4 separate regions of the Homo sapiens genome follow, and all the other regions are linked to region 1. Evidence: promoter capture Hi-C in 16 types of primary human blood cells and fetal thymus (Javierre and others, 2016). All regions are on one chromosome and are shown on one strand. Each heading gives the region's core, a stretch centred on a gene start or on the middle of the fragment in contact. The rest is flanking DNA. Distances are from core to core; before and after follow the strand shown.

What was found. Contacts are between HindIII fragments. The CHiCAGO score rates a contact against its expected background, and 5 or more counts as called.
Region 2: a fragment that was not itself captured here is called in contact with the fragment with the promoter of SBK2 in region 1 in 1 of 17 cell types (monocytes); the score reaches 6.0 in monocytes.
Region 3: a contact is called between a fragment that was not itself captured here and the fragment with the promoter of SBK2 in region 1, in 1 of 17 cell types (monocytes). The highest score is 5.8, in monocytes.
Region 4: a fragment that was not itself captured here is called in contact with the fragment with the promoter of SBK2 in region 1 in 1 of 17 cell types (activated CD4 T cells); the score reaches 7.3 in activated CD4 T cells.

What each region holds. Positions count from the first base shown.
Region 1 is chr19:55,535,191-55,538,415 of GRCh38, forward strand. It overlaps SBK2 (SH3 domain binding kinase family member 2), which reads right to left and starts at 1,943. Exons shown (of 4, transcript NM_001370096.2): 1 at 1,864-1,943; 2 at 852-1,106. The coding sequence starts at 1,104. RefSeq lists a silencer at 2,552-2,846. The HindIII fragment of the contact is 39,425 bases long and covers 1-3,225 here.
Region 2 is chr19:55,232,773-55,236,117 of GRCh38, forward strand. The region is part of intron 17 of PPP6R1 (protein phosphatase 6 regulatory subunit 1); the gene reads right to left. Among named protein-coding and RNA genes, the nearest start is that of MIR6804, 3.5 kb to the left of the region's middle. The HindIII fragment of the contact is 3,764 bases long and covers 74-3,345 here.
Region 3 is chr19:55,195,402-55,198,488 of GRCh38, forward strand. It overlaps PTPRH (protein tyrosine phosphatase receptor type H), which reads right to left. Exons shown (of 20, transcript NM_002842.5): 9 at 1,716-2,015; 10 at 1,121-1,387. Among named protein-coding and RNA genes, the nearest start is that of PTPRH, 13 kb to the right of the region's middle. The HindIII fragment of the contact is 4,783 bases long and covers 1-3,087 here.
Region 4 is chr19:55,173,139-55,176,403 of GRCh38, forward strand. It overlaps SYT5 (synaptotagmin 5), which reads right to left. Exons shown (of 9, transcript NM_003180.3): 4 at 2,867-2,986; 5 at 2,571-2,738; 6 at 2,034-2,201; 7 at 1,744-1,861; 8 at 1,379-1,512; 9 at 1-546. The coding sequence ends at 346. Among named protein-coding and RNA genes, the nearest start is that of SYT5, 5.5 kb to the right of the region's middle. The HindIII fragment of the contact is 439 bases long and covers 1,412-1,850 here.

The DNA of each region.
Region 1 (3,225 bases), core at 693-3,192:
CCCCCCAGCACAGGGCTGGCCTCAGAAGGCGTGCCCTGAACTGACTGACCTCAGGTTGCCTCCCTATTTTCCGTTTCATGGAAGGACACGGTGCTTGGCAGAAAGGCCCAGGGTAGTGGGGAGCTGTCCTGCGCACCCACTGTGTGCCGGCCTTGCTAAGTGCTTAGCAGACAGCATCACTCTGCATCATCCCACGGTGACCACTACAGCCGCCACAGGAGGCTCCTGAGCTGGGAGCTCTGTCTTACCCAGCATTATACAACCCCAGCAACTAGAGCAGTCCACATTCACTCAGAGGATCCACCATTCTTCCAAGTAGAAATCATCACCCACATTTTCCAAAGGAGGAAGCTGAGACTCAGAGAGGGCAAGGGAGTTCCTCAAAACACAGTTTTTGGCAGGGCACCGTGGCTCATGCCTGTAATCCCAGCAATTGGGAGGCTGAGGCAGGCGGATCACTGGAGGCCAGGAGTACGAGACCACCCTGGCCAACAGAGTGAAACCTCATCTCTACTAAGAAAGAAAAATACACACACACACAAATGTAGCTGGGTGTGGTAGTGCATGCCTATAGTCCTAGCTACATGGGAGGCTGAGGCAGGAGGAACACTTGAACCTGGGAGGTGGAAGTTGCAGTGAGATTGTGCCACTGCACTCCAGCCTGGGCGGCAGAGCCAGACTGTCTCAAAAACAACCAACCAACCAAAAGAACAAAAAACAAAAAACACACAGCTTTGGAGGGCAGAGGTAAGACTTGATTCAGGCCTGCCAGCCTCCCCAGCCTGGGCTACCCCAGGCCCGTGCCCCGCCCCCAGCTGAACCCTGCCACCTCTGGCCCCACAGCCTCGTACCTTTCTGACGATGGGTGACCAGAAGGACGCGGCCATAGCAACCCTGGCCCAGGGGACGCACTTCCTCGTAGAGCTCGTCCACCTCGGCTCGGACCAGGGTCTGAGCACTCAGCGTCATCATGTCCTCCAGCGCGCGGGCAGCCTCCTGGCCCTGCTGGAGCTCCTCTAATGTCAGGCCGCCCAGACCCTCCTCCTCGCTGTCCTCCGAAGCCCCTGCCTCCGCCGGCCCTTCCTCAGACTGTTTGCCGGGCATCTCTGCGAGAACAGAGAGGGGTGCCCAGGCTCAGGTCCCAGGCCCAAGGGAGGAGGGGACTGGGGGTCTGGACTCCTGGGTCTGAGGGAGGAGGGGCTGGGGGCTCATCGCGCTTCTCATTGTGACTCAGTCTCCCTCTTGGTGAGAGGTGGGGAGACAAGTCTGGTGTGAGTTCAAGCCCCAGGTCACAGATGTCCCTGCCCGCGTGCCGCCGCCGCCACCCGCCCACCCTGAGGTTGAAAGATGAACCAGATAACTGAGACTCCCCCATCTTGTTTCCAAAGCAAACAGACTTGGGCCCTGGGGGTGGATGAGTAGACTCTGTCTCCTGAGAACAAACAGGTGCTCTTGGGCTCAGGGCTGGGAGGGCGGGCTGTGCAGAGGGCCTGGGACGCCTGGGTCCTGCATGGGACCGAGCACTTGGGATCAGTCCCCAAGCTCCTGACAGGCCTGGGGTCCCACTTTCACAGCCCACCCACCTCCCTCCGACCCAGCCCCCCAGCCCCTCCTCCGCCAGGCCCAGGGGTCCAGGCCCCCAGCCCACCTCTCTCCCGGAACCTCATACAATTCACACAACTGGGGACCCCCTGATTCTGTTTCCCTCACCCTCCACCGCTCTACAGCCTCCAGGTGCAGCCCAGGCTCCCCTGAGGGACCGAGGACTCGGGCCACCTGGTACAGTCACCCTCAGGTGCTGCCCACCTCAGGCCAGGGCACCTTGCCCACCTCCCAACCTGGGCTCAGACCTCCAGACCTCACCTCCTCCAAGGCCCTCCTGACCCTCCGGCCGCCGGCTGTGGTCAGTGCCCGGCACTTAGGGCTCATGCCAGCAGAGGCCTGCCTAGGAGCAAGACCCCGCCCCGACTTTGGGGGTCGTAAGGCCCCGCCCCTGGGCCCGCCCCTTCTGCCCCCACTGGGAGCAGAGCGACATCGTGTGATGACTCCTGGAACTGGCTGTGGTCAGGTGAATACCCTGACCCAAGAGTTGAGCCCTCCTCCTTCAGACCCAGGAGTCCAGGCCCCAGCCCCTCCTCCTCCCTCAGACTCAGGAGTCCAGGCCCCCAGCGCCTCCTCCCTCAGACCCAGGAATCCAGTCTCCCAGTGCCTCCTCCCTCAGACCCAGGAGTCCAGGCCCCAGCCCCTCCTCCCTCAGACCCAGGAGTCCAGGCCCCCAGCTCTTCTTCCCTCAGACCCAGGAATCCAGGCCCCCAGCTTTCCCTCCCTCAGACCCAGGAATCCAGTCCCCCAGTGCCTCCTCCCTCAGACCCAGGAGTCTAGACCCCAGCCCCTCCTCCCTCAGACCCAGGAGTCTAGGTCTCCAGCCCCTCCTCCCTCAGACCCAGGAATTCAGGTCTCCAGCCCCTCCTCCCTCAGACCTAGGAGTCCAGACCCCCAGCCCCTCCTCCCTCAGACCCAGGAGTCCAGGCCCCAGCCCCTCCTCCCTCAGACCCAGGAGTCCAGGCCCCAGTCCCTCCTCCCTCAGACCCAGGAGTCCAGGCCTCAGCCTCCCCCACCCATCTGAAGTTTTCCGGCAGAACTGAGGCCTCCCCACCCCCTCAAGGCCTCTCTTCCCAGTTGCTCCAGCACCTGCTTCCCGCCCCTCTGAGTCTGAGGTCATCCCACACTGCATCGTTCTGGAATCTCATTGTCTCATTCTTTCCCCAAACTAGACCCCAGCATCTGATCCCCTGGACACCCCTCTCCAAGCACTTGTGTCTGACCTGTCAATGGGGCATTGATGGGGCAGCTGGGTGGGGTCAAGGCAGGGGTGGGTTCCAGAAATGATTTCATTTTCTACACGGGACCCGGACTCCTGGGCCTGATGGAGGAGGGGGTTGAGGACCTGGACTCCTAGGTCTGAGGGAGGAGGGGGTTGAGGACCCGGACTCCTGGGCCTGAGGGTGGAGGGGGTTGAGGACCTGGACTCCTGGGCCTGAGGGAGGAGGGGGTTGAGGACCTGGACTCCTGGGTCTGAGGGAGGAGGGCCTGAGGGCTCCTGATTCCAAAGAGAGGAATAACAATAAAAATAGTTTGAAAGCGCATAACAGGAATACAGGCCAGTGAGTGCCTCCCTGCTGTAAGCACAGGGAGATTAAGCCCCACTAGGAAGTCCCCAAGCCT
Region 2 (3,345 bases), core at 706-3,205, 300 kb before region 1:
AGCATGAAGAAAATCCAAGCAACCTACGTGCTGATCAACCGGGGAAGGGGTAAGCAAAGTAACACTAAAACTAAGCTTTAACAACGAGGGTGCACTCTGAAAAACGCCATCATTAGGCGATTTTGCTATTGTGTGAACATTCTAGAGTGCACTTACACACACCTGGATGGTGGCGCCTCCTGTACACCTAGGCTCTGTGGTATAGCCTATTGTTCCTAGACTACCGACCTATACAGCATGTTACAGTACTGAATACTACAGGCAATTCTAACAATGGTAAATGTTTGTGTATCTAAACATAGGAAAAATACAGCAAAAATAGAGGATTATAATCTCACGGGACCACTGTCATATGTGGTCCATCGCTGACCCAAAGATGCAGTATGGGACTATATACTATGTCTAAAATGCTGACCCAATATTTTTGTCTTAACAGAGTAACTGACTACTTTAACTGGAAAGTAATATATCTGTATATAGTTAAAAGTAAACTAAAATACTCAACGACTAAGGAGTATAAAGGAAGCCCCTCAACCTAACATAAGGCATCTACAAAACCCCACAACTAACAGCATGCTTACATGGCAAAACGCTGAATGCTTCCCCCTAAGATCAGGAACAAAACAAGGATGCCTGTTCTTGCCACTTCTGTTCAACATTGTCCCGGAGGCTAGCCAGGGCAACCAGGCAAGAAAAGGAAATTAAAATCATCCAGATTTGAAAGGAAGGAAAATGAACTCTATTCACATGACATGATTCTGTACATAGAAAATCCTAAGGAGTCCACTAAAACTATCAGAACTCATACATTAGTTCAGCAAGGTTGCAGGATGAAAGATCAACATACAAAAACCTATTGTATTTTCATATACTTGTAACAATCTGAAAACAATTTCAAGAAAATTCCATTTACAATAGTAACAGAAAGAAGAAAACAGGAATAAACTTAAAAGAAATACAAAGCCTCATACTCTAAAACCTACGAAACATTGTTGAAAGAAATTTTAAGACCTATATAAAAAGACATCCATGTTCACGTATTAGAAGACGCAAGGTGGCTTCTTGGTTGAAATTGACAAGCTGATCCTAAAATTCATATGGAATCTCAAGAAATCCCAAATAGGGCAAAACAATCTTTAAAAAGAAGAACAAGGTTGGAAAACTAAAACCTCCCATTTTCTTTTTTCTGTGAGATGGAGTTTCGTTCTTGTCACCCAGACTGGAGTGCAATGAATGGTGCGATCTCAGCTCACTGCAACCTCTGCCTGCCAGGTTCAAGCGATATTCCTGCCTCAGCCTCCTGAGTAGCTGGGATTACAGGCACCCACCACAGCCGGCTAATTTTTGTATTTTTAGTAGAGATGGGGTTTCACCATGTTGGCCAGGCTGGTCTCAAACTCCTGACCTCAGGTGATCCATCCACCTTGGCCTCCCAAAGTGCTGGGATTACAGGTGTGAGCCACCGTGCCCAACAAACCTCCCATTTTCAAAACTTACTATAAAGCAACAGCAACCAGGCCAGTGTGGTACTGGATAAAAACAACACACAGACTGATAGAACAGAACAGAGAGGGAAGAAACAAACTCATACATATGGTCAAATATTTCCTTTTTACACAGGTGCCAAGATGATTCAGTGGAGAAAGGACAGTGTCTTCAACAACTGGTGCAGGGAAAACTGGTTATCTATATGTAAAGGGATGAAGGTGGACCACCTCACATCATATACAAAATTTAGCTCAAAATGAATGGAAAACCATAGAAATAATGCTATAAAACTCTTAGAAGAAAAGAGAGGGCTAAGTCAAGATGCTGGATTTGGCAGTGACACACTTGTGCACCAACAACACGTGCAAGGGTATTCACAGCGGCCGCACTCACAGCGGCTGCACTCACAGCAGCGAGCAACAGGAACCTGCCCAAAGGCCTGTCAACTGCAGAACAAGCAATTCAGCTGCAGCTCATCATGCATGGCACTGCCCCACTGCACGAGAGCCAGGGGCACCCAAACACACAACAGGGAAGGAGCTCACAAGCAGAGTGTTGAGCAACAGAGGTCAGACATAAAAGGAGATGCTGTATGCTATATCAAGTGAAAACAGAGACAAAACTCATCTACAGGGTTAGAAGCCAGGACAACTTTACCCTCAGAAGGGAGGATACTGGCTAACAGAGGGGATGTGGGTACTGGGAAGGTCCTGCTCCTGGGTCTGGGCACTGAGGAAGGATATCCATTGGCCACACACTCAGGATCTGTATGTACACTTGTCTATACGCATGTTACATGTCAATAAAAAGTGAAAACAGCCTAATTCCGAAATCAAAAGTCATGAGTCAAAAACTCAGTTGCAGATGATGACTTAGTGTTCAGGCTGTCAAATCTACATGGCATGAACCCATTTCATCACAGCGACTCTGGGGCCGGCCAGTATTAAGAGAAAAAAAAAAAACAATGTAACATTTGCACTAAAATGTCATCACAGCCTGATTGGAGAGGGACGTCATCATCTCTCATTTTACTGGAATTAGAGAAGAGAGAAGCTGCCTGGGACCATCTTACCCCCCTTTCTAGGAAAACGTGTGAGAGCTAACACGAGGAAGTGAAGTGAAGGGATGAAGGAAGGAGACAGGGAGGCGGGAAGAGAGAGACACACACAGACCAAGCCATACCTCAGGACCTGCCTATTTTTTCAGCCACAGAGATTATCCCTTTCTTTTCATAACTTAACTCATTTGAATTAGATTCCTTTTTTTTTTTTTTTCTGAGACAGAGTCTCGCTCTGTCGCCCAGGCTGGAGTACAGTGGCGCAATCTTGGCTCACTGCAAGCTCCGCCTTCCGGGTTCACGCCATTCTCCTGCCTCAGCCTCCCAAGTCGCTGGGACCACAGGTGCCCGCCACCACGCCCGGCAAATTTTTTGTATTTTTAGTAGAGACGGGGTTTCACCATGTTAGCCAGGATGGTCTTGATCTCCTGACCTCGTGATCCGCCCGCCTCAGCCTCCCAAAGTGCTGGGATTACAGGCGTGAGCCACCGTGCCCGGCTGATTTTTTTTAATTTGTTGATTCTTTTTTTTTTTTTTTTTTTTGAGACCAGGTCTCTGTCACCCAGACTGGAGTGCAGTGGTGCGATCTCAACTCACTGCAACCTCCGCCCCCCAGGGTAAAGCGATCCTTCCACCTCAGCCTCTCAAGTAGCTGGGACTACAGGCACACGTCACCACATCCAGGTAATTTTTGTAGAGACAGGGTTTCGCTATGTTGCCCAGGCTAGGTCTCAAACTCCTGAGCTCAAGCGATCCATCCACCTTGGCCTCCTCCCGAAGTACTGGGATTACAGGCTTGA
Region 3 (3,087 bases), core at 366-2,865, 340 kb before region 1:
TGAGGCACAAGAATTGCTTGAACCCTGGTAGCAGAGGTTGCAGTGAGCAGAGATCATGCCACTGCACTCCAGCCTGGGTGACAGAGTGAGTCTCAAAACAAAAACAAAAACAAAAAAACAAATTATGCTCAGTGAAAGTGGCCAGTCACAAAGAAACACATAATGTATGATTGCATTTTTTTTGTTTTTGAAACAGGGTCTCGTTCCTTCACCCAGGCTGGAGTGCAGTGGCCCCGATCATAGTTCACTGCAGTCTCAACCTCCTGGGCTCAAGTGATCCTTCTGACTCAGCCTCCTGAGTAGCTAGGACTACAGACACACACCACCACAGCTGGCTAATTTTTTAAAATGTAGAGATGGGGTCTCACTCTGTTGCCCAGACTGGTCTCGAACTCCTGAGCTCAAGTGATCCTTCCACCTCAGCCTCCCAAAGTGCTGGGATTCCAGGCATGAGCCACTGTGCCCACTCTATGATTGCATTTTAATGAAACGTCCCAGAGAGGCAAATCTATAGAGATTGAAAGTGGATGAGAGATTTCCGAGGGCTGGGGGCTGGGGAATGGGAGAACTAGGGGGTGGTGGCTCAGCGGGGTGAGCTTTCTGTTGGGGGTAATGAAAATGTTCTAAAATTGATAGTGATGATGGTTGCACAATGTTGTGAATATAAGAAGAGTCACTGAATTGTAACTTTAAGTGGTGAGTTGTGGATGGCGCGGTGGCCCACACCTGTAATCCCAGCACTTTGGGAGCCTGAGGCAGGCAGATCACCTGAGGTCAGGAGTTCGAGACCAGCCTGGCCGACATGGTGAAACTCCATCTCTACTAAAAATCCAAAAATTAGCCGGGCGTGGTGGCACGTGCCTGTAGTCCCAGCTACTCAGGAGGCTGAGGCAGGAGAATCACTTGAACCCGGGAGGCAGAGGTTGCAATGAGCCAAGATCGTGCCACTGCACTCCAGCCTGGACAAGAAGAGCAAAACTCCATCTCAAAATACAAAATAAAAAAGATGTTTCAAAGGAAATGAGAAACAAAAGAGTCCCACTGATTTCCTCACAATGGGGCCTGATGGGGTCTACCGAGAATTTCATCATAGCTGGCTGGCCCGCGCGGCTCCGCTCACCTGCACTCTCGGTGTGGCAGACCACAGAGTGAGACACGACCTTCATTCCGTCCCAGATGGTCGTGATGGTGGCTGGGTAGGACCGAGCCGGCCCGAGACCCAACACAGACACAGCCTCCCCACATGAAGATCTGTCCTGGGAGCCCCGCTGTCCTCCCACCTCCAACTCAAAGGCCTCGTAGCCTCCCTGGGGGCAGGACCAGATCAAGTTGACTCCATAGCCCGCTGAGGTGCTGACACAGGAAGTGATGGTGACTGTGTCTGGGTCTGGGTGAAGGAAGCAAGAGGTCAGCAGTGCCATCCAAGGTGGCTTTCCACCCCCTCCACCCCTACCCCCAGTTTTCTGAGACGAGCCCATCCCTTCCTCGCCAAATCCAAACTACCTCATCTTCCCTCCTTTTCTGTCCTCCCCGAATGGACACAAATAAGTCCTTTTAAACTACAACTCCCATGAGGCCTTGGGCTCCTCCATCACTGCAGCTCATGAAGTCATGGCCTGTGGCCTGATGGAATTTGTATTCCATTCATCTCTCAGCTCGCAAGGACTGTGAGCTAAGCCCAGTTCACCACTTGAAGGCAGGAAGGGGATTCTCACATGTGGACGCACAGAGGCTCTGCGTGGAACTGGCTACGTCATTCCTCTCTGCCCACACGGTGAAATTGTACAACGTCCCGGGTTCCAGGGCCTCCACTTTGTACCACGTCTCATTGGTCCTGCTGGTCTGGTTGACCCAATTCGCTTGGGGATCTTGCCCCCTCCGGGGATGTCCCTTGCTGGCCCACTGGACCCAGTATACGTACAACTGAGAGTGGGGGTCTCCAGGGGCCTTCCACCACAGCATGACTGAGTTCTTAGTCTGAGTTTCATTCTGGAGATCTGTGACCTCATTGGGAGCTGAGAAGTGAGAACAGAGGCCTAAGGGGGTATCCTCGAAGACCCTCCTACCCCAGCCTGTCTGCCTCTCCCCCACAGCAAAGCTGAGATATCCATTATTGATGGCTCCAGTGGCTAAGGAGGCTGAACCACAGGAAAGAGTCTAGATACCCAAAGACCATGGGGACCAGAATCTCCTAGCCCTCTCCGTCCCCTGGCTACAGCCCTGGGTCCCACCCTGTCATCTTTCTGTTCTTCCCAAATGCACACCAATTCCACCTACTGAAACTACAGTTCCCATGAGGCTATGGATTCTCTGTATCGCTTCAGCTTATGAAGTCATGGCCCCATGGTGTGATGGGATTTGTAGTCCTCCACCTCTCATGGCCCTCGAGATCTGATCTCTGTATTTTCTTTCCCACAGGAACCCCAGGTAGGGTGTCTTCTCACTCTAGACACACCACGTTTGTAGAGGGAGCTGATAAATTTCATCTTTTTAGCCCAAATGACCAAGGATTAAAGAGTTCCAGGTTCAGGCCAGGCATAGTGGCTCACTCCTGTAATCTCAGTGCTTTGGGAGGCCGAGGCGGGAGGATCACTTGAGCCCAAGAATTCGACACCAGCTTGGGCAACATAAGGAGACCCTCTCTCTACAAAAAATATTTTTTTAAATGAGCTGGGCATGGTGGCGCATGTTTGTGGTCCCAGCTACTCAGGAGGCTGAGGTGGGAGAATCAGTTGAGCCCAGGAGGTCGAGGCTGCAGTAACCATGATCACACTACTGCACTCCAGCCTGGGCAACAGAGCAAGACCCTGTCACACACACAAAAAAGAATGAACCTAGTCTCCAGAGTGATTTTGATTTTTCTCATGAGTGGGACCCACCGTGCCTAGGCTGAGAGGTGGGGCCCTCTCGCTTCATCTAATTCCCTGGGACCAGCTGTTGGCTATTGTCCAGCTGGTGACTTTGTCAGCTCCTGAGAGGTGGTGCTGGACAATTGAGGGCTCCCCCTGACCCCAAAGAGTCCATTTCCCAAAGGGAGAAAAAACAGGTCCCACAGCTTGGAAAGCCCTGTCTGCTAAGAAACGACAC
Region 4 (3,265 bases), core at 381-2,880, 360 kb before region 1:
GGGATGGGCTGTGTTGGAAGAGAGAGGAGAGCAGACGAGGATGGCTGATTGTCAAAGCAGGGGGCAGGACCCGGGGGCAGGAGAAACCAGGCTGCCTTCCCTTCCCGGGGTCCCTGGGGCATCTGGGTGTGTCCGCGAGGGTCGGGGGAGTGTGCTGGAAAGTTGTCGTGATTGGCATCGTTGGGGGTGAGAAGACAGGAATGGTTCAGATGGTTGGGGTGGAAGGTGGGGGGAGGGTAACCGTCAGAGGAAGCTTAAGGGTGGGGCTGGCTTGGCTTTGGCCGGTCTCGGGAGTCTGGGGTCAGGGGCTAGAGTCCAGGCTTGGCCGGGGGCTTGGGGTGGGAGTCAGGGCGCAGGCAGCAGCCTCACTCGGTCCGGGGGCCGCAGCGAGTGCCACTGGGCAATGGGCCGCCGCGGGTTGGCCAGCATGTCCGCCCAGTGCCGCAGGCCAGCCCCGCCGGCGGCCGCCCCCACGGCCACCCTCCCGATGGCCTCGTTCTTGCCCAGCTTGTCGTAGTCCAGCACGGTCAGCTCCACCTGCACCTTCTGGGGTGGGCGCGGGAGGAAGAGGAGAGAGGAGCGTGAGGGGAGGAGGCCCCGGAAGGGGCGGTGTCCGTTTTCACGGCTGAGGGTACCTCTCGCTGCCACCCGAGGGCTCGGGGCCCCGGAGCTCGGGACGGGGGAGGGGGTGGGAGACGAGAGGGACGGAGCCTGCGGCGAGGAGGAGGCTCTGGCGCCTTTCTTCCTGCGCAGCCAGGTTTCTAAGGAAATGAACCCTCAGGACTCGGTTGCGGAGCGGGTGTGTTCGGCGCCTCCTGGGGGAGCAGCCTCCTAAGAGCCGCAAAGCTGCAGAACTTTAACAGGGGCCGGGCTAGGGTAGGCGCCGTCCCTAAAGAAGTGAGGGGAGGTCTCTTTTTCTTAGAACCACGTTCCTGAGGAGGGCGGGGCATCCTGGTCCTGCTTAGGGTGGGGAATCTGGTCCCGCTTAGGAGTGGGGCATCCTGGTCCCGCTTGGGGGCGGGGCATCCTGGTCCTGCTTGGGGGCGGGGCATCCTGGTCCTGCTTGGGGGCGGAGCATCCTGGTTCCGCTTGGTGGGGCGGGGCATACTGATCCTGCTTAGGGTGGAGCATCTGGTACTGCTTAGGGGTGGGACATCCCGGTCCCGCTTAGAGCAGATAGGACACCCACACCCAATTTTAAGGAGTCTCTTCCTGGAGTGGAAGAGGCTTCCTGGTCCTCATAGGAGGAAACAGACTGAGAGCATAACCTCAGACCCCCTCACCTGGTTTCTAGGGAGATGCTAAAAAGTCTCCCTCCGCCTAGCAATGGCGATTACTAAAGGTCTGGGCTCTTGGAGAAGGGCAGGTTTGAGCTCACCTGGACTTGGTCACAGGGCACCTCGAAGCTGAAAGCTTCGTTGTAATAGGGGTTCAGAGTGTTCTTCTTGATGGTGGTTTTCTTCTTCCGCACCTTTTTGCCGCCCTGCAGCAGGTGGACCTTGACGTATGGATCTGGGGAGAGGAAGGAGGAGTCTTATAGCTCCCCACTGCTGGGTTGTTGGACCAACATAGAAACACTGCCTACACCCTTCGGGTCTCCCTAGCTCTATGCCAAAATCCATGCCTTCCACAGCAGCCAGGTCCTCCCTGTCCCCGAAGAAACCCTCGAGGCTCAGAAACTGTCAGAACGAGAACCCACCCCACGCCATCCCCACACACCCCACTCCCTTGCTTCCCACACACCTGACAGTCCTCCTACGTCCATCTTCTTCAGGTTTTTAGCCTCCAGGACGATGACGGTGAGCTTCCCGGCCGTGGGGACATAGCGGAGGGAGAAGCAGATGTCCCCAAGCTTCTCCTGCTGAAAGGAGAGGGGCCCATCACCAGAGCCCCGGCTCCACATCCATGCCTCCTCAGGGGTACAATCCACGCCGCCCTGAGGGTCTGGAAAGCCTATGATCTGATTGGCTCAGGATGTTGTGGGCGGGACTGGGCCTGGGGGCGTGGCTCGGGGCGCGACCGCGCATGCTCACCTCCTCCCGCGGAGCCGCCTGCAGCTCCCGCCAGGCCTGCACTGGCCGCCCCAGGTCCACGGAGCTCATAGGGACCCGCACCTCCCCGATGGCGTCATTGCGAGAGAAGCGGTCGAAGTCGTACACCGCCATGACCAGCACCCTGCCCCCCAGCTCCACGTAGGGGACCTGGAGTGCACAGAGAATCCGCAGTAGAGAGCAGGAAGTCAGAGATAGGGTGAGGCACAGCACAACCAGAAGGAAGGCATGGAGTGAGGCAGCGAGGGTCGAAGCGAACAGTTGGGGGAACTCAAATGGGAAAGTCCAGGGATCCATGCGGAAAAAAATCACGGGTCAGTGGAACCCAAATCGTACCGCCCAAGGACCAGGCTACAGCCCAGGAGTCAGTAGTGCCCAGGGTCCAGTGGAATAGCCCCAGAGCTGGTAGCTGCCACCTGAGCTGTGGCCGCCTCCAGGAAAAGCGGAAGGGGTCGGTCCCTAGTGTTCCAGGGACTGGGCACAGGCTATGGAACACGGGGCCTGAAGGCAGGAGCTCACCTTGAAGGCGAAGGTCTCCCCAAAGTGAGGGTTCAGCGTCTGCCGATGCACCTTGGTCTCGTACCGCCTCCGTTTGTCCGGCAGCAGGTAGACCCGCACATAGGGGTCCGAGGAGCCACCAAGATCCAAGGCTGCCAATCCCATTGCTTGCAGAATGCCCACCAGCAGCTGCAGGGCCCAGGCACAGTGGGGGAGGTGGGGAACACTAGTCTTAGCCTCCCTTCCATGGCTCCTTTCAGAAGGGGTTGGAACCCCCGGGATCCTCCCTCCAAAGCTTCCCCTTCCTCCACACCCACCTGGCCACTCTGGAAGTCATAATCCAGGGAGTACTGCAGTCGTCCTAGCTCATGCTTGTCTGCCACCTGCTGCCCTGGCCCGGATGGTGCTGGCTCCAGCTCCTCTACTTCTGGCTGCACCTTAAGGAGCCAGGGGTAAGGGTGGGTGAAGTCTTCCCCTGATAGCAGTATCCATCAGGCTCAGAAGCCAAGGGAGGCTCACAGGTCCCTTGGGCTATACCTGAGCTCTCACAGGCTAAGCAGATTCAGTATTTGACTAGTGCTGTCTGCCACAGGCAGGAAATAGACGTGGTAACACAGATGCAGTATGTTTGTGAAGGTTTGATTAGTGGTGTCTGCTATGGGCAGGAACTAGACATGTGCTTGTCATGCTTAGATTAAAACAAGTGCTGATAGTGT